Linked DNA regions of Homo sapiens: all the other regions are linked to region 1. The links are contacts of gene promoters, found by promoter capture Hi-C in blood cells and fetal thymus (Javierre and others, 2016). All regions are on one chromosome and are shown on one strand. Each heading gives the region's core, a stretch centred on a gene start or on the middle of the fragment in contact. The rest is flanking DNA. Distances are from core to core; before and after follow the strand shown.

The links. The method cuts DNA at HindIII sites, captures the fragments that hold promoters and counts their contacts. A CHiCAGO score of 5 or more calls a contact.
Region 2: a contact is called between a fragment that was not itself captured here and the fragment with the promoter of RPAP3 in region 1, in 1 of 17 cell types (naive B cells). The highest score is 5.4, in naive B cells.
Region 3: a fragment that was not itself captured here is called in contact with the fragment with the promoter of RPAP3 in region 1 in 1 of 17 cell types (total B cells); the score reaches 6.8 in total B cells.
Region 4: a fragment that was not itself captured here is called in contact with the fragment with the promoter of RPAP3 in region 1 in 2 of 17 cell types (naive CD4 T cells and total B cells); the score reaches 6.5 in naive CD4 T cells.
Region 5: a contact is called between a fragment that was not itself captured here and the fragment with the promoter of RPAP3 in region 1, in 1 of 17 cell types (naive CD4 T cells). The highest score is 5.7, in naive CD4 T cells.
Region 6: a contact is called between a fragment that was not itself captured here and the fragment with the promoter of RPAP3 in region 1, in 1 of 17 cell types (naive CD4 T cells). The highest score is 7.3, in naive CD4 T cells.
Region 7: the fragment with the promoter of DDX23 here is called in contact with the fragment with the promoter of RPAP3 in region 1 in 4 of 17 cell types (fetal thymus, M0 macrophages, neutrophils and 1 more); the score reaches 11.6 in fetal thymus.

The regions. Positions count from the first base shown.
Region 1 is chr12:47,704,335-47,707,492 of GRCh38, forward strand. It overlaps RPAP3 (RNA polymerase II associated protein 3), which reads right to left and starts at 1,696. Exons shown (of 17, transcript NM_024604.3): 1 at 1,618-1,696. RPAP3-DT (RPAP3 divergent transcript) reads left to right here and starts at 1,754. Exons shown (of 4, transcript NR_183480.1): 1 at 1,754-1,829. RefSeq lists enhancers at 910-1,411, 1,412-1,911, 1,632-1,926, 1,858-2,007 and silencers at 1,158-1,247, 1,278-1,567, 1,638-1,717. The HindIII fragment of the contact is 881 bases long and covers 997-1,877 here.
Region 2 is chr12:45,980,573-45,983,730 of GRCh38, forward strand. All of the region lies in intron 1 of SCAF11 (SR-related CTD associated factor 11), which reads right to left. Among named protein-coding and RNA genes, the nearest start is that of SCAF11, 8.4 kb to the right of the region's middle. The HindIII fragment of the contact is 3,959 bases long and covers 1-3,158 here.
Region 3 is chr12:46,174,323-46,177,480 of GRCh38, forward strand. No RefSeq gene overlaps it. Among named protein-coding and RNA genes, the nearest start is that of SLC38A1, 93 kb to the right of the region's middle. The HindIII fragment of the contact is 4,589 bases long and covers 1-3,158 here.
Region 4 is chr12:46,213,509-46,216,666 of GRCh38, forward strand. All of the region lies in intron 5 of SLC38A1 (solute carrier family 38 member 1), which reads right to left. Among named protein-coding and RNA genes, the nearest start is that of SLC38A1, 54 kb to the right of the region's middle. RefSeq lists enhancers at 1,882-1,941, 2,503-2,832, 3,003-3,062. The HindIII fragment of the contact is 5,560 bases long and covers 1-3,158 here.
Region 5 is chr12:46,263,592-46,266,749 of GRCh38, forward strand. All of the region lies in intron 1 of SLC38A1 (solute carrier family 38 member 1), which reads right to left. Among named protein-coding and RNA genes, the nearest start is that of SLC38A1, 3.9 kb to the right of the region's middle. RefSeq lists an enhancer at 2,943-3,158. The HindIII fragment of the contact is 3,181 bases long and covers 1-3,098 here.
Region 6 is chr12:46,364,550-46,367,707 of GRCh38, forward strand. SLC38A2 (solute carrier family 38 member 2) reads right to left here. Exons shown (of 16, transcript NM_018976.5): 5 at 2,718-2,791; 6 at 2,527-2,619; 7 at 2,315-2,396; 8 at 558-640; 9 at 95-153; 10 at 1-7. Among named protein-coding and RNA genes, the nearest start is that of SLC38A2, 6.6 kb to the right of the region's middle. The HindIII fragment of the contact is 1,046 bases long and covers 951-1,996 here.
Region 7 is chr12:48,850,700-48,853,857 of GRCh38, forward strand. DDX23 (DEAD-box helicase 23) reads right to left here and starts at 1,464. Exons shown (of 17, transcript NM_004818.3): 1 at 1,385-1,464. It overlaps LOC105369755 (a long non-coding RNA gene), which reads left to right and starts at 1,022. Exons shown (of 2, transcript XR_944925.3): 1 at 1,022-1,115; 2 at 1,351-1,850. RefSeq lists enhancers at 1,320-1,509, 2,389-2,598. The HindIII fragment of the contact is 5,632 bases long and covers 1-3,158 here.

The DNA of each region.
Region 1 (3,158 bases), core at 446-2,945:
TGCATTATATTTAGTCATAAAAAGACTATTCAGAGTTTTTGTTTTTTTTCTTGAGACAGAGTCTTGCTCTGTCGCCCAGGCTGGAGTGCAGTGGCGCAAACTCAGCTCACTGCAACCTCCACCTCCTAGGTTCAAGTGATTCTCCTGCCTCAGCCTCCCGAGCAGCTGGGATTACAGGTGCAGGCCACCACGCCCGGCTAATTTTTGTATTTTTTTTTTTTTTAGTAGAGACGGGGTTTCACCACGTTGGCCAGGCTGGTCTCGAACTCCTGACCTCAAGTGATCCGCCCACCTCGGCCTCCCAAAGTGCTGGGATTATAGGCATGAGCCACCGCGCCTGACCTCTATTTAGAGTTTCAATAAGATTTTTTTTAAAGGGTGGAAGGCCAACCGCAGGTGGCTCATGCCTGTAATCCCGGCACTTTGGGAGGCAGAGGTTGGGGGGCAGGGGGAATAGCTTGGGCTCAGGAGTTCCTAGATCAGCCTGGGCAACACTTCGAGATCCCCATCTCTACTAAAAACACAAAAATTAGCCAGGCGTGGTGGAGGGTGCCTATAGTTCCAGCTACTCAGGAGGCTGAGGTGGGAGGATCGGGAGATCGAGGCCACAGTGGGCGGTGACGGGCCCACTACACTCCAGCCTGGGACCAAAAAAAAAGGAGGGGGGGGAATGAAATGAGTTACGTAAATGAGATTATATGGAGATTACAGTACATTTGCCTTTGATAATATAAGACTTGTTCTTGAGCATAGTCTGGGGAAAAAGCAACAAAGTAAAAGATACAGGAAAAAGGATGAGTGATGGGGCAAAATCTCCAAAAAGGTAGGAGAAGAGTCAAAGCTTTAGGCGGAGGGAAGAGAAGTAAGGTGGGAGGGAGAGAGACGGAATTAGAAAAACATTTGTTTAGGACAGTGAAAAATACCTCACTAAGAAGGGACAGTTGCAGATGCAGATAGGTCTTCTGACTCGTAGCCTCAACAACTAAATTAGGTTTAAGCTTCTTTCAGGCAGTGTCCATGTTTGACCATATATGCACAACTCATTCAAAAACAAAACTAGTACAACGCTTTGTTGGGAACTCAAATAAATGAATAAAAGCGCAACAAGTCAGTGAGATGCTGACGGGGGTTAGATGCTTTTCCATTTCACCCATCACCGCTGCTGCTCGAGCAGGCCCAAAAACTCTCCCAGGGACCCTGCGATGGGGCGGGGGTGCGAGCCAGCAATCAAAAACTTCCAGCGCTGGGGGTATCACTTTCACACCCGCTGTCCCGGCGAACACCGCACACCCACGCCGCAAGGGGGCGGGCCCCACCTCGGTCTTTGCGGGAGGGCGGCTCTGCCTTCCCGAGCACTGCAAAATCGCAGCAGGGTGGAGGGTCCGCCTGCAAAGCAGAGCGCGCAGGCCCGGGTTGCGGGGGCGAGCCCCTCCGGGAACGCGCGACCCGAGACGCCGCTGCCCTGGACACCGACGCGCCGCCTCAACGCGCGCCTCCACCGCCAGCCCCGGCCCGCCCCGCCTCACCGGTACCCATAACCGCTACCCCTCCTCCCACCGGCCACCCCAAGGATCTCCTACGCTGCTCCGGGCAGCGAGAACCGCAACGCCCGCTCACCTGACCAGGCCGTAACCCGCCGCACTGCCACCCCGTCAGCCCCGCAGCGACTCACGCCGAGCCCGGCAGTGACTCACGCAAAGCCCCGCCTCCTGCGCTTCCCCACAAGCCCCCGCGGCCTCGCCCCGCCCCCTTTAGCCTGGGCTTGAGCGCGCGCAGAAGTCAGCTTCGTGACTTCCTTCTCAGGATGGAACCAGCTTGGTGGCTTGAGGGTATGTAAAAGCAATATCTGAGCCTTCTGCCTGCTTCCAATATGACTAAGCTTAAAAGGAGATAACCCAAAAACTGCAGGATCATCCTGATTTTCTGATCTCCAAAACAATAAAACCTTGAATATTTCCCTGGACTCCCTTAAACAGTTTAATCCCTAATATTTACCTTGCTAATCTCTGACCTTTGTGACATTAATTTGTCTGACCTTTGTGAGTATAATAACCATGTGAGAAAGTTACTGTTTTTCCACCATGAACAGACTACTGTCAACCGGTAATCCTGGTAATTTTAGGGGATTTTTTTTTCCCTTTAAGTACTGGTTGGCAAACTAGTCCTTCCGTCTAACTCCTCGCATCTTTTGCAAGTAAACCCCTTTTCTAAGTGAATCTATCTCTGAGTCTTTCTTTGACATGTGCCAGTGTTACAATCTGTCTTTAGATATGCTCTGGCTTACAGAGAAAAAAGAACGAAACTTTTAACACTTTTTGCTTCTGCTTCCCGTGTGAGGGAGTCTTCGTTGCAATGACAACTCTTAAACGAAAGCAAAACAAAAATAATTGCAGAAGTCCACAGAAGCAAACACAAACAAATGAAACTTTCCATTTAAAACAGGACTGTAACCTCAAATATCCTCAAAATCCAGATCGGTGGTTCTCAGTCTTGACTGAGCTTTGGAATCACTTAGGGAGTATATACATATACACGTGTGTGTGTGTGTGTGTTTGTGTCTGTGTGTGTGTGTGTGTGTGTGTGTGTGTGTGTGTGTGTGTGTATACTGATTTCTGTGTCCTATCCCAGAGATTCTGATGTAACTAGTCTTGAGTGAAGCCAATCAGAATTTTTTAAAGCATAGGATACGGCTGTGCATTTGAAGCTGGAAGCCACTAACCCAGGCGCTGATCAATGAAGAACTAGGCTGGAGTGCTGTCTTACAAGGTCATATCATTAGCACATCCTTCCCATTGCTTAATTATTGGTATCTTTATATTTTAAAATCATAGTAGTCAAATCATTAAGTGTACGTCAAAATATTTACTAATGAAATGATTCTTTGGTTGTATTAGGGAGATAGAGAACTGACTTTTAATAATTTTTTTATTAAGTATTTAAAAGCAAATATTGATTTACTGGTGTTTTTAACAAAAGCAACCACATTTGTTTTATTAATTCTGACAGAGTTGATTGAGAAGAGAGATAAGGGGGCTAGCTGGCTGCTCTAGTAAAACCTCATAGACCCTTAGGTGACCCTGCTTTTCTCTCTCTTTTTCTCTCTCAAACCATACAATAATCAGAAGTAGCTTAGTGAATATAGAGTCAAAGTGAGAAAA
Region 2 (3,158 bases), core at 442-2,941, 1.7 Mb before region 1:
GCTCTTAACCATTGACACTAAACGGCCTAATACACAAAAGGATCTCTATAAGGGTCATAAGTTACCCAACAACTCACCTGAACATCATATCCTTACAGTATTTATGTAACTAATTAAGTAACATTTATCTGAGTCCAGTGGTAATAAATAGCAGCTAACTCTATGTTCCATTCTCTTAAATTAGCTCTATTTAGTGAGTGACTCTCATGCCCTTTTAGTGCAAAGAACCTGAGAGTAGAATAACTGGATTAAGACTGTCCTGCTCCACCAGGTTCCAAAATACCTGTGTTTGGGAGGAGTGTTCCTCCTCCCAAAATACACTAATAGGAAAAACTAAACTGATATTAGTAAGATACTAGTTATCAATGTCTTAGGACATAACCTAATATATCACATCATTTAGAATAGTTTGTTTTAGGGAAACAGGGCAGGTGATTTATAAATTAACAAAATAAAGAAATATTGTCAAAGAGTATATATAGTTGGTTTTTGGAAGAGACAACTCAGACCAAAATAATGCTGTTAGAGATTGAGTGATATTCGGATTATCACCTAAATGTAATCTTATTATAAATGCTACAAACTGCCAACTACCTTTTCAAGTGAAATTTCTAACTGGCCAGTCTTCTGCTATGTTCACCATGACTAACACAGGATATGATTTGTTCGACACCATAAAAGTATATCAGTAAGACATGTTAATGAGAAAGGAAACAGGGATGAAGAGTCAAAAACGATGAATGAACTCATCCCTAAAACAAACTATTCTAAATGATGTGATGATGTAGAGAACAGTCTTACAAATCCATGCCAAAGAAATAACCCTGATATTAATCCAAGTCCCTTAAAGTTGTATCAAAATAATCTCTAAACAAATAGCCCCTTACAGCTCTGAGATTCCTGTCTCCCAAAAAGATCCAAAAACCGAAACATCATTCTCCCATTTTCTGAGGAATAAATATAATCCGTCATCCTTGAATAAATACGTTTTTGTTTTTTATCTCATTTCCCCAAGTTATTCTAGTTACAGATTAACTCTAGACTGTTCACCTATCTCTAACAAAAATTTAAAAAATTAGCCGAGTGTGGTGGCATGCCTGTAGTACTAGGTACTCTGGAGGCTAAGGCAGGAGGATTACTTGAGCCCAGGAGGTTAAGGTTGCAGGGAACTATGGCCATCCCATAGCATTCCAGCCAGGGGACAGAGTGAGACCTTGTCTCTCCCCATACCTCCCAAAAAAGGAAGAAAATAGAGGAACAAACATTATTATATTAAATGTAAATAATGTAAATAATCGTGCACACCAATTAAAAGAGATTATCAAACTGGATTTTAAAGAAAGACTGAATTATATGCCTGTCTACAAGAAACTCCCTTTAAAAATAAAGATAGGTTAAACATATAGAACAAGATATGCCAAATAATGCAAACAATAATAAACGATGGTTGGAATGGCTATATTAATATGAACTATATTTTAAACCTTTTTAAAGAGTCTAAGTGGATTTGTTTACCCTCCATTCAGTTTTAATTATATCTAGTTCTGTGGCAGTTTTGAAACAATGAAGCTATTTCGTTTCATCCATCTCCCTCATATTACTCAAGCTGATGTCTTAAGTAACTGGACATGCACAACAGTTTCTAAAGAAATATGACCTATTACATTAAAACTGTCCTATCTGAAGGGTTTTCTATGATGAAGTTTTCAGGTGAGTGATAGCTTATAAATTTTTTGAGTCATTAATATTTATTCCCCATTATAACAGCTTACAGAATCATTCTTCTTGACAAGCCATCTAGGCATACAAAATAGTGCTATACGTATATTTACATTAAAAAATCACCTATCGGGGCCGGGTACAGTGGCTCATGACTGTAATCCCAGCAATTCAGGAGGCCAAGGCGGGCAGATCACTTGAGGTCAGGAGTTCGAGATCAGCCTGACCAACATGGTGAAACCGTTTCTACTAAAAATACAAAAATTAGCCGGGTGTAGTGGTACACGCCTGTAATCCTAGCTACTCAGGAGACTGAGGCAGGAGAATTGCTTGAACTTGGGAAGCAAAGGTTACAGTGAACCGAGATTGTACCACTGCACTCCAGCCTGGGTGACAGAATGAGACTGTGTCTCAAAACAAACCAAACAAAACCTATCATTTGTAGACTGTTTCATTGATCCCAGAGAATTTTTATAACAGTGTTGTTTTGGCCGCTGTCTTTCATGTTTGTACTTCTGTTTTGGTTTACTTTAAGCTGCTAAATAACTACTGTGGTCAGGGTACTGAGCCTGGTATTGGAATATAAAGACGGATTAAGATACTGTATCACTTCCCGGTACAAGGAGTAGACTTGGAGACATAGGATACAGAAGATGAACAAGATAGCATATGCCAAGTGCCAAATGTGAGAAATAGGCAAAGAGTTTCTAAGACATTTTTTTAAATGTACCAGTGGGGGAGTAACTAACGACTGAGGCAAGTAAAGAAAAATAATGATAATAAAGTGCAAAAAGTTAATGTTCTTAAGTCCAATTAGGACTTACGTTGTGTTTCCTTAGGTGGACTTCAAGTCTATCTCTCTCCCATTTATTTGTTTTGAAAGTGGTTTATAAGATGTTTAAATTGGGGATTTTGAGCTTAATGTAGTAGCAGAAAGGTGGCAGTGGTGGAGAGATGGAAAGTACGAGAAACTAGTTAGGAGAAAATGGAAAGAAGACTAGATATCAAAAAAGAAGGCCTGATTAGGACTAAGCTCCCCTAGGGCACAGACCTAATAGACACATAGATATCAACAAACCTGGAGTTCAGAACTATGGGTAGAGTGAATGCCTACAATATACTACGTAATGAACTACACATTCTGGCATGCCTTTCCACATTTAATCCTCAAAATACCAGAACACGATACATTTAAAAAATTAAAACACCGTCAATACTGAACAACAGAACACTGCATTAAAAAGGCTTAAAAATCACCCACTAAACAAAGCTAACTTAAGAGTATGAACAGAGACAGAGTTAGCTGCTATTACCACTGGACTTAGATAAATGTTATTAAAAAATTAGGTGAGGAAATTGAGATACTGATTAGATCACCTATAAAAGGTGACAATCAGTCATCTAGGACAACCAGAGTTCAAAACCAGGTCTGACTGACT
Region 3 (3,158 bases), core at 1-2,500, 1.5 Mb before region 1:
TCGTGGAGCCTTGGAGGAATTGCGAACAATCACATGATACGACTTACTGACCTACTACTCGAAGAATCGATTATTTAGTCGGTCATTTCAAATGTGAGGGTAGTAAAGTATTTGCCATTCATTTCACACAGCACACACAAACAATGCAGTGAGTGTCCCCTGAGAGCATTATTTGAAAAGGGGATGTGGTCTGCAAGAGTTATCAGGGAAGTCTGAGAGGGGAACTATGGGGTGTTCCTGAGAACAGTTTGGAAATCCCATGCTAGGTCCCAGGTGAACAGACACTGCAGACAGAATATGCTGTTTACGTGGTTTATGTGGTTATGTCATTCAGAGAAAGAACCTTGGGAGATTGGTAGGGGAATTTTATTCCAAAAGGAGCATTATCTATATGTTTGATATTGAACACGGGGAGGAAGGTCCACAAGACTTAGCTAAGGCCTGCCCCAACCCCATACTAAAAAAGAAAAAAAAAAAGGCAAAAAACATAACCAGGATTTTATTTTACTTTTTAAAGAAAGATCAAAACAATAGGGGGAAAATGATTATTTAAAATATAACCTATAGGTACTGTGAGCTGAGGCACACTTAACGTATTAGGTTGGGTTTCCCAGAAGCAAATCCCAATACAGAATGTACGTGAAAGTGATTTATTAGGAAGTGTTCCCAAGAAGAATTCACAGAGGGTCAGGGAGTGAGGCTGGGAAGGGAAGGAGCCACACAAGGAAGGACGCAGTATCCAGCAAAACCCAAAGGGAAACTGGCACCATCCCACGGGGGAGCAGTGCAGACACGCAAACACATCTCCACACCGTCCCCATCAGTGGCAGGGCTGCTGTGCCATTTACACCTGTCAGTCACGGGTTAAGTAAGCGGGGAAATGCTGAATACCCGGCATGTACATCACATAGTGGGCTATACTGAAAATCTCTCAGGGAACAGATCCAGGAATAAGGACATCATTTGACTGTCAAAAGGGTCTTTGAAAACTATGAATGGAAAGTAGATCTAACTTTTTCCTTCATGCTGTTCCAAACCATCTGTATTCCACAGGAAAATAAACCTTTACCTCAAATAAAAACTTTGATGTTTGAAAAGTAAAAGCAAGCGGCTTCCCCAGGCAGAAAGGACTGCTTCTAAACTACTTAGAAGAGCTATCCTTTCAAAAGGTAGGGATGGTATATAACATGTTTTCTGATGCCCGATTTCCAAGTGCTGAGCTGTTCATACAGATCTAATTTGCTTCCAATGTGACTGACTGAAGAAAAAGTCACCAACTGGTGGTGGTCAGGGGCCTGTCCTGCTCTCAGACACATTCTGTTTGGCCTGCCTATTGTTTCCAAAAATTGGAATTGCAATGTTTATCTTCATATAAGACATTTTTTGCTCATCAAGAATATATCAAAAAATTACTCTATGTCCACGGTACCCATATCATGAATAAAATAAAAAGCTGATGATCAAAGATAATAAATACCATGGGGGCAGCAAGTATGACAACATCAAATATCACAACAGAGATGAGAATTTCACATCCTATGAATAGTATTCTTTTTTTCCTTTTTTTTAAGAGGCAGAGTCTCACTGTGTCACCCAGGCTGTAATGCAGTGATGTGAATACAGCTCACTGCAACTTCAACCTCCTGGGCTCAAGCCATCCTCCTGCCTTGGCCTCCCGTGTAGCTGGGACCATAGGTGCATACCACCATGCCAGGCTAATTAAAAAATATATTTTTTTGTAGGGGCAGGATCTCACTTTGTTGCCCAGGCAGGTCTCAAACTCCTGGGCTCAAGCGATCCTCCTGCCGATATTACAAGCATGAGCCACTGCACCTGGCTGATAGTATTCTTAACAAAAATAATAAGACAAAGGCCACACACAGGCAATCTGAAGTAGGATGGTAAAGCTGGTTCAAAGAACATTTTGAGGCCAGGTGTGGTGGTTTGCACCTGCAATTCCAGCACTTTGGGAGGCAGAGGCAGGAGGATTGCTTGTTCTTATATCTTCTTGTAAGTTAGTAAGACCCCATCCTTACAAAAAAAAAAAAATTGACAGGTCTGGTGGTGTGTGCCTGTGGCCCCAGCTACTGAAGAGGCTGAGGTGGAAGGATCACTTGAGCCCGGAAACTCAGGCCTGCAGTTAGCCGTGTTCTAGCCACTGTACTCCAGCGTGGGTGACAGAGTGAGACCCTGTCTCAAAGAAAAAAAAAAAAAATTCAGAGCATTTTGAAGAACTGGATGTTTACAGGCATATAGAAATAATAGAAAAATATAACAAGATTGTTAAGTTAGATACAAACCTTTGAGGTTATTTTTCTACTGGGCAGAAATCATTTGCATCTCTACCAGATAAAAATCTGAACAAACAAAAGTACATTCCTCTAGATAATTAAATAACCCTTGGCTAGGACTGGTAAATAATTTCCCAGTTTCATATTATATCTTCTCTTCATCTTAAGTTTGGAGTAATTTTTTAAAATAATTTTTTTAATTTAACTTTTAAATTCAGGGGTACATGTGCAGGTTTGTTACATAGGTAAAGTTTTGTCACTTGGGTTTGTTGTACAGATTATTTTGTCACCCAGGTATTAAACCATTGGTTATTTTTCCTGATCCTCTATCTCCTCCCACCTTCCACCCTAGAAGATTTTGAAAATATCTCTGACTATACCACTAGAGATTATGATTTAATTGGTCTGAGGTAGGGCCCTAGCATAATTATTTTTTAAAGCTGTCCTAAATTCATAAATTTCATAAAAACTACCCCTATCATTTTGAAACTGGCTATGCGGAAACAAACTAGAGTTGAACAGGGATTTACCAATTAATATTTTCTGATGCATATGGTCAAATACCATCTCTAGTTTCTATCTGTGGTAGGGAGCTGGGCTAACTGCGAGCTTGAATATGGAAAACAGGGCTGGGGCTGGGTTTAGTTAGGGGAAGTATAAATATAAGGACTGTTGAAGAGCTTATTGAAAAAACAGAAGTGGTGAAAGAACAGCTAGGAGGACTACAGAAACATAAAAGAAGAGAGGCTGGAATATGAACTGAGGTAAACAGACAAGATGTGAATCTGACATTCTATCGTTCATATGTTCTTATACCTTCTTGTGAGTTTAGAAAAATTCACAGACACAGAATTGATGGGACAAAAG
Region 4 (3,158 bases), core at 371-2,870, 1.5 Mb before region 1:
AAGACCATCTGGAAATGGCCCATTGTCCAGCCAACTGCTTGAAGCCTGGAAGTCGACCTTATCTCTCACCCATTCCCTCATCCTTTATATCTAGTTCATTGGCAAGTGCCCTATCATTTCTATCTCCAAAATTTATCCCAAATCCATAGGCATTTTGTTCCCATCTCCACTCTAGTGTGAGCCATCGTCCTTAATTTCTGGATAACTGTGATCATCTTGTCTCCTCACATCCGTCTTCCACCCAGCAGCCAGAGTAATCTTTTTATTTTATTGCTTTATTATGTGTCTCCATCACTAGACTGTAAGACAGACAACGACAGTTTAATTCAACTATTTACCTATTTACCTTCAACATCAAACACACACATAACAGAGTCTTCGCTGAGAATCAGTGAATTTAGAAACATTAGAACCTCATTGGCAAGTTATGTGAGACTATGCCAAATATCTTAACTAAAATCAAGACTCCCTCTATGAAGATAGTCCCATGATCTACTTAGCTCACTGTATCTCAAAAGATGATATTAGTTTAGTGACTATTTAGAAAAACTTTGTTGGTTTCTACAGAGTAATCTTTTCTGCAGTCATTGCACATAAACAAGCTGTTTAATAATTTTCTCTACACTATTCCTTGGCATCTACTTTTTGCCATTTTTGAAAGTTGGGATTAAATTAGCCTATTTCTAATCCTCTGGGGATACTCTTGCTTTCCATGATTTTTAAACAGATTCCTGAGAGTATCTTAGACAAAGTGGCATGAGCAAAAAAAGAAAAAATGAAAAAGATTTGTCACAGTGGTCCTAGATATATTTACTCTTTTTGCTGCAAGAAAATTTTGACTCATCTTTTAAACAACGAACATCTAAACATCGATTTGAAAAACGTTATTTGTCAATGTTTTGAATCATATTAACAGAATTGTAATTATTTGGTCTTCCATAATTTACCCAAAGATTATATGAATAATGTTATTATTTTCATATTTAAAAGTACCATATGCTAATAAAGTGGAAAGCTGTGACAACAAATAAAACCAAAACATTTAATGTGATTGAAATGTTCTATACCATGATTGTGGTGGTGATTTCACAACTGTATTTGGGTAAATTTAACAAACCTCACCCTTTAAATTGGAGAATTTTATTGTATATAAAGTATACCCCAAAACAAACAAACAAAAAAACAACCAACAAACAAAAACCAACCTCAGGACACTTTAAGGGAGATAAGACTATATTTTAAAAGCCTAGCTACACAGCAACAAATCATATGACATCCTCCCAACACAGCATCAGAACCTTTGGTAGGGGTGGAGGTAAAGCAGCCGTCACTGCATCAGATCCAGAAATAGCTCAGATGGGGGTGTTTGGGGCTGCCTTGCAGCTGAGTGCTTTCAACTTCTCCAGGACCCATTCCTCCCAAAAAAAGAGAGAACCGTTGCCAGCCCTCCCTAGCATGACTCTCCCTTGCAAAGTTGAAAGCAGCTATTCTCAAACTTTAACGTGTGTGCAAATTAGGATCTTGTTAAAATGGATGGGTCGGGACCTGAGATTCAGCATTTCTAACAAGTTGCCAGATGCTGCTGCTGCTACTGGTCCACTGACCTCCCTGGAAGCAGCAAAACTGAAAGCCCTAAGCTCTGGCCTTGTGGTGTATACATTCCAGTTCTTTCTGTTTCTCACCACACTGTGCTGTGCATCACCCGCCACACTGTCTGTGGTGAGGTGCTGTGCCAACACTGCAGCTCAGTTACCTGTAAACACAGACCCCACGGCTACCCAAGTAAGGTGACAGTGACGAAAAGCACTTACAACTGAATCATTCTCATTGCTGTGGGATGCTGACTAGCTTCCAGTGTGAAAAGTAAGATCTCATCTGCTTCCTTTGGTTGACTTCCTCAAGCATTACTTTTTTTTTTCTTGAGACAGAGTCTTGCTCTGTCACCCAGGCTGGAGTGCAGTGGCACAATCTTGGCTCACTGCAACCTCTGCCTCCCAGGTTCAAGTGATTCTCCTGCCTCTCCTGAGTAGCTGGGATTACAGGTGCATGCCACCACACCCAGCTAATTTTTGTATTTTTTAGTAGAGACGGGTTTCACCATATTGGCCAGGCTGATCTCAAACTCCTGACCTCAGGTGATCTGCCCACCTCAAGCATTATTTACTTCAGCAGGACATATATTTAAATTCTATTTTCAACCTCCCCTCCCCCATGTTTCACTCCTTCCAAAAGGGATCTGAGGCTTACTAAACTATGTAATTCTTCCTCTTCTAGATCCAGTTAGAAGTATAAAACTTTTACTATCCTCAATTAAACAAGCAGGCTAGTACATATAAAAACTCCTTGAGCTGGGGTAAAAGTGGTCTTTATTACTAGTCCTCCTTTGATCTATCACTGTCTCCTAATAACCCACAGCCCTCACTCCAAAACTTACAGACATACTGCTTGTTGAGGCAGAGTATTTACAAGAAAAATTTAAAATCCAGGACAAGGAACTTAGACAAACCATAGGAAATGCATCGGTTCTGGGCTAGCCTATCTTTCTCCACTCCTTTCTGCTATTGCTGGCCTCTCCCTCACCCTCTTCTACCTCTTACTTCTAGTCTACCTTTCTCAAGGGTCTCAACCCTCCTGCATCTTCACCTTGCACTTTCCCATTCATCTTTCATCTCCACCAACTCTCCCTGCTTCTCCATCCCCACCCCCAATTATTCTAGGGGAAATACCTGTATAAAGATTTGAAAACATTGTTGAAGAGACTAGAACACTAGCTGAAAATGATGGAGGGGCTGGACTGTGGGGAGGACCCAACTGAGAATGCAGACCAAGAACTTAGTGTCGCCGTGTCTGTGTGGTTGGAAAGCACAGCTTCAGGGGTTTTCCAGGCAAGTGTGACAGCCAGCCAGTGGAAACAGGAAGTAGGGCATGAGTAGAAGGTTTAAGTGAGGGACCAGAGGCTCTCAGTGAGGCTCGAGGACAGGAATAGTGGTTTCTGGCCTAGGGAAGCAATGCCAATGGAAGACTTAAGTGGTGAGGAAAGAGACACAGAAGAAGAATCCTGGCCAGGCGCGGTGGCTCACACCTGTAATCCCAGCACTTTGGGAGGCAGAGGTGGGCAGATTGCCTGAGCTCAGGAGTTCGCGACCAGCCTGGATAAC
Region 5 (3,158 bases), core at 258-2,757, 1.4 Mb before region 1:
CTGACCTGTCTGTCTCCTGCTCAGAGCCTCTTTCTCCTATACCTTGGTCCATAGCCTATCCCTTTCTTTTTCCTTTCCATTGTCGCTTTCTTTTCCAACCTTCGCCATTCCTAAGAGATGGAAACTGAGATCTACACATTAAATCTTCATGTGGCTCTGGCTGTATCACTGGACAGGCGTCTATGCCTGGGAAAATTCAGGTTATAAACTGTAACCTGAGGCTGTGGCTCCATGATGTCAACAAATGGTTGGTTTAGTAAAATCAGGGGGAAAAGTCAGTCAAGCTCATAATTTCACACTACTAAGACTAAGACTTTGTCAAGCAACATATGGAGGTCCTCATTTAATTTCTGATGTTTGTTTTGTTTTCCTTGCTTTAAATCTAAACCAATGCATATCAAAATCACCCCTGATATTTTCTAAGCTCCCATATTTGGGCTCCATCCCAGGCCAACTAAATCTGAATCTCTGGAGTTGAAGTCTTGGCACTGACAGCTTTTAAAACACCCTAGATGAGTCTAATGTGAAGTCTGCTCTGAGACTCACTAATCTAAAACCATCACCTGACCCTGAAGATTAGCAGCATGCTTAATGCCAGATGACTATCATCTTGAATAGTTTTTTTAAACTTGTTCAAGGACTTTCTCAGCTCTGCTCTCATTGTATCTTCACAACTCTGAGGTACGCAGCACTGATACTATTATTAGCATTGGACAGATGAGAAAATGAGGCATAAAAATGTGAAATGAGTTGCTCAAGGGTACCCAGCTAGTTATTGCCAAAGACACATTGTAACCTCACTTGAAACAGAGTTACTTACTAATAGTAGAGGAATTCAGTGATTGGGAAGGTAACATGGTTAGGGGAACTCCTCTGTTATTAGTAAGGTTATCACTAGAAAACAAATATGTGATCAATTTTCAGAAATAAGTACAACAATATTTTTAAATTTAAAATCTTATTTTAAATCTAGGGTCAGTGTCTTTTTTTAGGTTATTGAAGTTAATCTTTTAATTTTACTTAAAATTTTTTTATTTCAATAGATTTTGGGGTATCAGTGATTTTTGGTGGTTATATAAATGAATTGAAAGTGATGAAATCTGAGACTTTAGTGCACTTGTCATCTGAGTAGTACACATTGTACCCAATCTGTAGCTTTTTATCTGGCATCCTCCCTTCCAACCTCTGGCTTCTGAGTCTCCACAGTCCATTATATTACTCTGTGTGCCTTTGCATACAAGATGTCTTTTTCGAAGTCTGTCACACATTCTTCAAAGTACTTCTGTGCACATACTTCTCCTACCTCCTCACCACCTTTCATAGATGTATATTCTCCCAGAGACTAAAAAGATCCAGGTAGTTTCCATCAAGATATATTTTCAGAAAAGTATTTTTAAAAGATTACATAGTCACAGAATTTCAGAGGTAAAGGGAACTTTACTGATCAACTTTCTCTCCCTCCTCTGGTAGATATGTTTAATTCAATACATATGGAATGCTAACACTATACCAAATACTTCACATTCATTATCTTCATTAAATCTTTACCATCACTCAGTAAAGTGGGTACCACCAACACTACCACCAGCATCATCATTCCCATTTAGCAAAAGAAAAAACTGAGGCTTAGAGATGCCAAACACCTTGCCCAAGATTCCTGGGTGAGTAAGCTGAGGCCTGATATTTATATTTGACTCAGAGCCTAAGCCCCTATTCACCACCTTCCATCACCTGGAGTAACAACAGTCCAAAATGTGAAGGATAAACAAATACTTATGAAAATGCCAGTGAGGTGATCAGTGAACACTTCTCCCAAGAGGTGGAAAAGTGGCATCAGGGATAGGCCATCACAAGTACACAGGATTTCAGTAGGCATTCTGGACTGGAATCCAATCCACACAGATATTGAAGCAGAAAAGTGATAGGGAGGGAATAGGGTGAACTGTGAGAAAGAAAATATCAAGAGAAAAAATTGGAAAGAGATGAGAAGGCAGATTGTGAAGGGTCCTAAGTGTATGGCTAAGGAATTTAGACTGTATTTGTGTGCAATGGAAACCCTCAGAGGTTTTTAAAAGCAAGGTCCTTTAACAAAATGTGAACTGAATTTTAGAAATATAAACCTCATGAAAGAATGGAGATTTAATTAGGGGAGCATAACTTGATATGGAGGAGAGACCAACAGGAAAGCTGTTCCACCTCAGTAACTGGCTGTTTCACTCTTAACCATATGTTGTGCTTGCATTTTTCTCCACCGCCCACTCCCACTGCCCCTAGGTTGTTCAAGGCACCTCTATATCTGTTTCATATGTCTCCAAGTCTAGGTAAGGTGACAGGGACCTGAACTTGGGCAGTGGAAATGGAGACAAGAGGACAAGTGTGAGGGGTATTTTCAAGGGCCTGGTCACTGCTCAAAGTGGGAAGGGCAGTACGAGAAGGAGAAGCAGAGAAGAAAAAGACTCTCATTTTCAAACTTAGGAGAAGGGGAACAGATGAGATATAGAACGGAAGGGATGGCCAATAATATCACAAAGAGATGAACAAGATGGCCTGATCAAGGTCTCAAGGTCTCGATCCAACAAGTATTTATTAAGCAGGTACTATGTGCTGGACATTAGAGGAACAATGAGTAAAATCGGTTTTTGTCCACAAGCATCACCCAGAGTAAAGAAAAGAGTAGCAATAGTCAGATATCAGAAACATGGTGCTCCTTTCATTAAATGGCCTTAATTCATGAAGCATCATAAAAAATATACATAAACAACATACATATAGGTTTAAAGCTCCAAAACACCTTTAAAATCTATTCATCTATCTGTTCAATTATATTACAGTCAAAGAAGAGTGCAATAAGTACTTGCTGTTCCTTCTTCCTGTTCCTTCCGCTGGCCTTCTTCCCTCAATTATGGAAATAGCTGATCCCTTTTCATCATTCGGGTCTGAGGACAAATGTTATACCCTCACACCGCCCCTCCCGGTGAGTCACTCTATTTCAAGCATCCTCCCCCATCACATGATCCTGTTTTATTTCTTCATTGCACTAAGAATACCTGAAATGTATATGCCTACATTTATATAGTCTATTTCCCCCTGAGAACGGAAGCTTCATAGAAGGTGAAACAAATCTTGTTAGTTGCTGCCAGTCGCACAGTAAGCCCTCT
Region 6 (3,158 bases), core at 224-2,723, 1.3 Mb before region 1:
AAATGACCTAAAAATATATTATTTTGCATGTGTTAAACTAAGTGACATGGCAGGGCTTATAAAAAATTTTTTCTAAAAAAAAAATCATACCCACCACAATCAGAAAGAACACCATACACAACAAGGAAAGGCCACTGGTATATCCCAAATATCCTATAAGGAGGGGTGGCAGGAATCAGTATTAGTTTAATGAAACAGATTTAAGGCAAATATCTTTTTCCCACTGAATAACTCAATTCTGCTGGGAAGACTTTAGGCACTAAAGTATGTGTATAGCACTAAATTTCTAATTCTTATGATACTAAATTATAGATTTATTTAAATATACTTGTCATAACCCAAGCTAATAAAAACTATCATTTGCATTATTTCTTACAAAGCACAACATATAGTGTCAATTAAATATTTTGGCTCCTAAATTTTGCATGCTGTAAGTCCCAAAGATATACCTTTCTACTTTCTAGGGCTTTTTCATTCTGATTAATTTCTATTCAGAGAAAGCCCAACTAACTGGTGAGAGGCTCATTTCAATTCTCTTTAGAGATGAGTTTGCTCACCTAAATTTCTAAACAGCGACAAAGGAAGAATGACCACCAATGACACCAACAGAACCAAATAGTTCCCGTTCAGATACCACAATCTAAAGAAAACAGAAACAAGGTCAAAACAGTCACAAATATCCTCTGAAAAATATACACATCTTCTAACAGGACTCATTTCATAGGAATACCATGAAAACAAACACACAAAAAAGACATGTTTGGAAAAAGTTTCCCCTGTTCAAGATAGGAATAACTTTTTAATTTTGTGTGCTAGATGAACATTTACTCAGGTTAGAAGTCGGGTATAAAACAGTGTAACTTTTGTCCCACTACTTGCTCTGGGAAGGCTGCCAGCTGATTCATAACACAAAATGCTTCTCAAAGACTTGATACTAATGCAGGGAACAAAGCTTGTTTGTTAAGCCAGTAATCTTATCTTTAAGCACTTTCAGAAAAATTGTACACCAACTTTGGTACAGCTTTAGCATGTAATTTCTAATGCTGGAAACTAAAAAATTTTAAAACAAGTTTTTTTCCAGATGCGTTAGCAAATATTATTAAATATTTCAATGAGGAAACGTTTTCATAAAATGCACAGGCAAACTGCCCCCCCCATAAAAAAAATTATAAAACTCAGTCCCCCAAACCAGGACTTATTCCAGGTTATCAGAGTATGTTGTGACATCTTGACCCACCTTTAACTCCAAAGACAGCCAAAAATATCCCTTTTGAACTTTAGAAAACATTATGTATATCCTCTAAGCCTTTTTCTTTTTAGGTAAATCATGAATTGCACTGTCTTCTAAATCACTATTTTCAAATTCTAATTGCCTCATGAATTCTGTTCACTTCAGCAGTAAGCACTCTGCAGAACACCAACACTTAAAGATCAGCTTAAAAAATTAAATTTCTAAAGCCACATCTGAGATAACAGCACTTCTCTATTTTGACGTAATGAGCTGCACATAGGGTGGGAAGTAAATTATCCTTCCCCATGTTTACTTTAGATAAATACCTGTGAGTTCACTGGGATGAGTAACTTTGCTAGAAGAAAATGGTTTCTATAGCATGCCCAAACATTTTCTGGCACATGTTGAGTATCCCTTATTCAAAATGCTTGGGACCGAAGTGTTTTGGACTTTGGAGTACCTGCACATACATATTTGAAGTATCTTGGAGATGGCACTGAAGTCTAAACACAAAATTCACTTATGTTTCCTATACACCTTCTTAAACCCATAGCCTAAAGGTGATTTTATACAGTATTTTAATTAATTTTGCACACCTGTCACGAGATCAGGTGTGGATTTTCCACTTGTAGTGTCATGTTGGCACTCAAAAAGTTTTGGATTTCAGATTAGGGATGTCCAGCCTGTATTTTGCATTGAACAGATTAAGTCTTAAGAATTCCAAACTTACAAAAATAAGACGGATTAATTTTTAATGTAATTCAAAGCTTCAGTCCTCACTTAGGATATATATTAAAAACACCTATAACTTCTTTAAGTATGAACATAAAGACAGAAAGCAAGTTCTAGAAAACCTGTTTTAGAAATTAAGATATCCAAAATTGTAGGGCTAGCTACTATCTTTCGGCCTTTCCTTCTCCAAAGTTCGAATCAGTTTACGGGGATGGGGGGCCTTCTTGGTCAGTTTCAAAAGGAACATTTATGGATAATTAACTAATCATTTTGTATACAACTTTGATAAAAATGTATCTAACCACTTTTGACTATAATTGTTTCTTATGAGTAACCTTACTTAGCACCTACCCAGTTTTATCTTCAATGTTCGTTAATGCCTGGATCACCAAAGGCAACTCATATTTCACTATGAAGAGGTAGCTTGACATAGCTGGAGGAAAACAAAATTATACCATTACAAGTGCAAAACGCGGCACGTGACACTAAAACGCATGTGTCACCATTCTGTGCTCCACAATGAGCATAAAGTCTACCCAAATAATCTTTTGAAAAATTCTTACCTCCAATGTTCTGCATTGTAATTGATCCAGATGCTGCAAGCTTTCCAACTAATCCAAATGCCTTATATCCCAATTGTTCATATAATAAAGACCCTACAATTTGAAGACAGAAGCATGAAGCCAAGGATTTTAAAAGAGAAATAAAATGATAGGTATACATTGTTTTAGAAAAATCAAGAATGCTATCATACCTCCTTCATTGGCAGTCTTCAAAAGGAGATGAACAGAATACAGGGAAAATATTGACACAAATGTCAAGAGAATTCTGGTGAGAGAAGGAAAAGGCATAGGGTTATAAATAAGCATGGCTATATTTAAAGACAACTCTTTCTGGATGTTTAAATAACATTATGTGTGCAACTTGTCCTATTTGTGTCAAAATGCCCTGAAGAACTGGCATTTCCTCTCCTACTAACTGGAATGGCAACACTGTCTCTTGGCTGGCAGTAAAAACTTGCATCATTTCTCAGGTGATAGTTCTACAGCATTGGTTAGGAACAAGGATGTCTACCCACTGAGCCAAACATAGCATGAGACACTGGAAAGCTCAACTTCCCAGTGATGGAGTTTGAAACTTGTATTTTGATTCTGGCACCACAATAATGAGCTGTATGCTTGCCACCTTTCTGCAT
Region 7 (3,158 bases), core at 214-2,713, 1.1 Mb after region 1:
AAGCATGGCAACGAAGAAGCCAAAAACATGTTTCAAGGAGGGAGGGGTCAACTGTGTCAAGTACCACCGAAGTGGAGAGGGAATAAGGGACAGGGAAGTAACCACTGAATTTGGAAAAATGGAGATTATTGGTGACCTTGACAAGAGCTGTTTCAGTTGCATTGCGGGAATGGAAGCCTGAGTGGAATGAGTTTGGAAGAGAATGAAAAATGAGAAGAAGACAGTAAATACAGGCAACTTTTATTACAGGTTCTATTATCACAAGGGCCAAATAACCAGGCTGACTCTGGCCATGCTTCCCAGCAGCCTTCCTCTCAAACCTCCAGATCTTCAGGTCCTCAGTTCTTGCAGGGCAGGGGCACATTCTTTTTTTTCACTCAATGACGTATTTAACAAGCATCTACTGTACGCAAGGCACAGTGCTAGGTGCTATGTGAGTTACAAAAATAAATTCTGTTCACAGGAAGTGTTTAGAACAACAGGGTTATGAGGTCGGACGCGGTGGCTCACGCATGTAATCCTAACACTTTAAGAGGCCGAGACAGGTGGATTGCCTGAGCTCAGGAGTTCGAGACCAGCCTGGGGAACACGGTGAAACCCCGTCTCTACTAAAAATACAAAAAATTAGCCGGGCGTGGCGGCGTGCGCCTGTAATCACAGCTACTCGGGAGGCTGAGACAGGAGAATCGCTTGAACCCGGGAGGCGGAGGTTGCAGAGAACCAAGATCGTGCCATTGCACTCCAGCCTAGGCGACAGAGCGAGACTCCGTCTCAAAAAAAAAAAGAAAAGAAAAGAAAAAAAAGAACAATAGGGGGTATGAGACACATACCAAGAAGAGTATCAAGGCTCAGATGTAGTAATACAGGTGTTCAAAGGCGTTTCCTTTCACTTGTAAAAGGTGATGTGGAAGGCTTGGAAGAGGAAGTGACGCTTGAGCTTTTAAGTATAAGTAGAATTTTAAGATATGTAATTAAGGACGCGGAAAAGAAGTCATTCCCGGCAAAAGAAATAATACGGCCGGCGCAGAGGCGGGAAAACATGGACTGACTGCGAGAGAAAAGCCAGAGTTCCAGTTTGGCTGCACCAAAGGCTACTTTAAGCATGAAAGAATAAGGTCAGACTGGGGGTATCAGAGGCGCTGTGCCCATAGGCAGAGTCCTGGGAGGAAAATATCGTGCAGGGACGTGGCCTGTGCCCGGAGGAGCCAACACTACCCCTGGGGCCCGCGCCCCTTCACTCCAGCCCGCCCGAGCTTCCCGGGTTCATGCCCCTTCTCTGAGGCGTTCTTTCCCGCCTCATCCAGGAGGCAGGGGCCACCGCCGTGCCCTGACTCTAGCCCTTTCTGTAAGCTCGTGGGAACCGCCTCCACCGCCCGGGACTCACCACCCTGAGTCTGAACCGCCCAACGCGGCCTCAACGTCGCGGAGCCGTCGCCATCTTTCCCGTTTCCTGGTCGCGGAGATGAACACCCCCCACCCCCCCGGCCGCGAGGCAAGCTGGGAAGGCGAGTTCCTGGAGCTGGGCGGCACAGGCCGACACTGAGGCCTGGAAACTACCAATCCCAGAATGCATGACTTGAGCGCCGGCCCCAGGCTGCGGGGTCTGCCGGGCAATGTGGTTTGCCAGACGTTAGCGTCCGGGAAGGAAGAGTTTTTCGCCAATAGGCTTTCGGCATTAGGTTCTCCCGCCGAGCACCCTTCTTGGAATCGGCTGGTCTTCCTAGAAACTACGGTCTATGACTGTCCTTGCCCGTGGCTTACAGTGGAGGAATTTAAGGGCTTCCTGAGATATCTGTAGTACGTAATTATAGCTAACAACCGCAGTAACAATAAATACCATTCGTGGAAAAGCGGTTTTTATAATAATTCTGTGAGAATGGGGCTAGCCCCATTTTACAGTTGGACAAACTAAAGATCAGGTTACCGGAGTAGGTTCACAAGGAGGGTGATGCAGTTCTCCATTGTGTGTGGAACTATCCCAGGCTTAGGAGGACGTTTTAGCAACCTTGGCCCCTGCAGCCGGGTGAATGCCATAACAACCCCCAGTTATTGTTACAGCTCCAAATGAGCCCACACAATGGGCTCTAAAGTCCTCCCGGAAGGATGGTATCTCCTGGGCTCTAGCACCTGTTTTCTCAACATTCCAGATGGAACCCTGGTTTCCTCAATTTCTTGCCCTTTGGAATGTGACCAATTGTTGAGCTATCTTGGTATTTTTGCTTCTTTCTTCCCCCAGATTCCCCTACTTCAGTCTTCCACTGAGTTTTGTTGTTGCTGTTGTTGTTGTTGTTGATGTTGTTGTTGTTGTTTTAACCTCAAATCGTAAGTTCACTTTGTGTTTCTCTTTGGTCTTATGGGTTCATAACTCTTTCCCTCAAAACAAAACAAAACATTGCAGTTGCGGAAACGGTTTAGATAACCAGAAGTATCTCGGACCTCCCTTCCCATTTTGCCAGCAGCAGGTTTGTTGCTTCAATTCCACATGGCTGTAGGTCTGCCTTTTCTCTCTGAATATGCCCAAGCTCTCAAGCAGAGCCTCAGGATAGACCCAAGTAATCCTAAAGCCCTGAGCATCACGTACAATGGCCCAAAGTAACCCTCGGAGACACACACTTCTCTTAGAACCTGCAGCCTTTCACCTCCCAGCTTCTACTCCAGAGAGAACGCAAGGGAAAGAAGAGAGCTCTGAGATCTGTTAGGTGTAATTCACCACAAAAGCACGAGAGGGCGCTCGACTCACAGATTCACAGATTAAACTAAGAATCAGACCAACCATGGTAGGCCAGAATCTTCAAAAACTGCAGCCACTTTTTATTGAGAATCTTCTAAGTGCTCAGCTCTGGGCTGGACACTTAACCTACCTTATTTGTTTTACTTAGTTCTCATAGCAGTATGAGATGAGTGCTATCTCCATTTTACTGGTAAGGAGATTGTGGCCCAGAAAGAGTAATTATGCCTTCAAAGGCCACATAGTTAAAAGAATGGGCCAGGTGAGGTGGCTCATGCTTGTATCTCAGCACTTTGGGAGGCCAAGACAGGAGGACTGCTTGAGCCCAGGAGGTCGAGGTCGCAGTGAGCCATGCTCGTGCCACTGCACTACAGCCTGGGTGACAGAGCAAAACCCTGACTGGAAAAAAAAAAAAAAGAAAGAAAGAAAA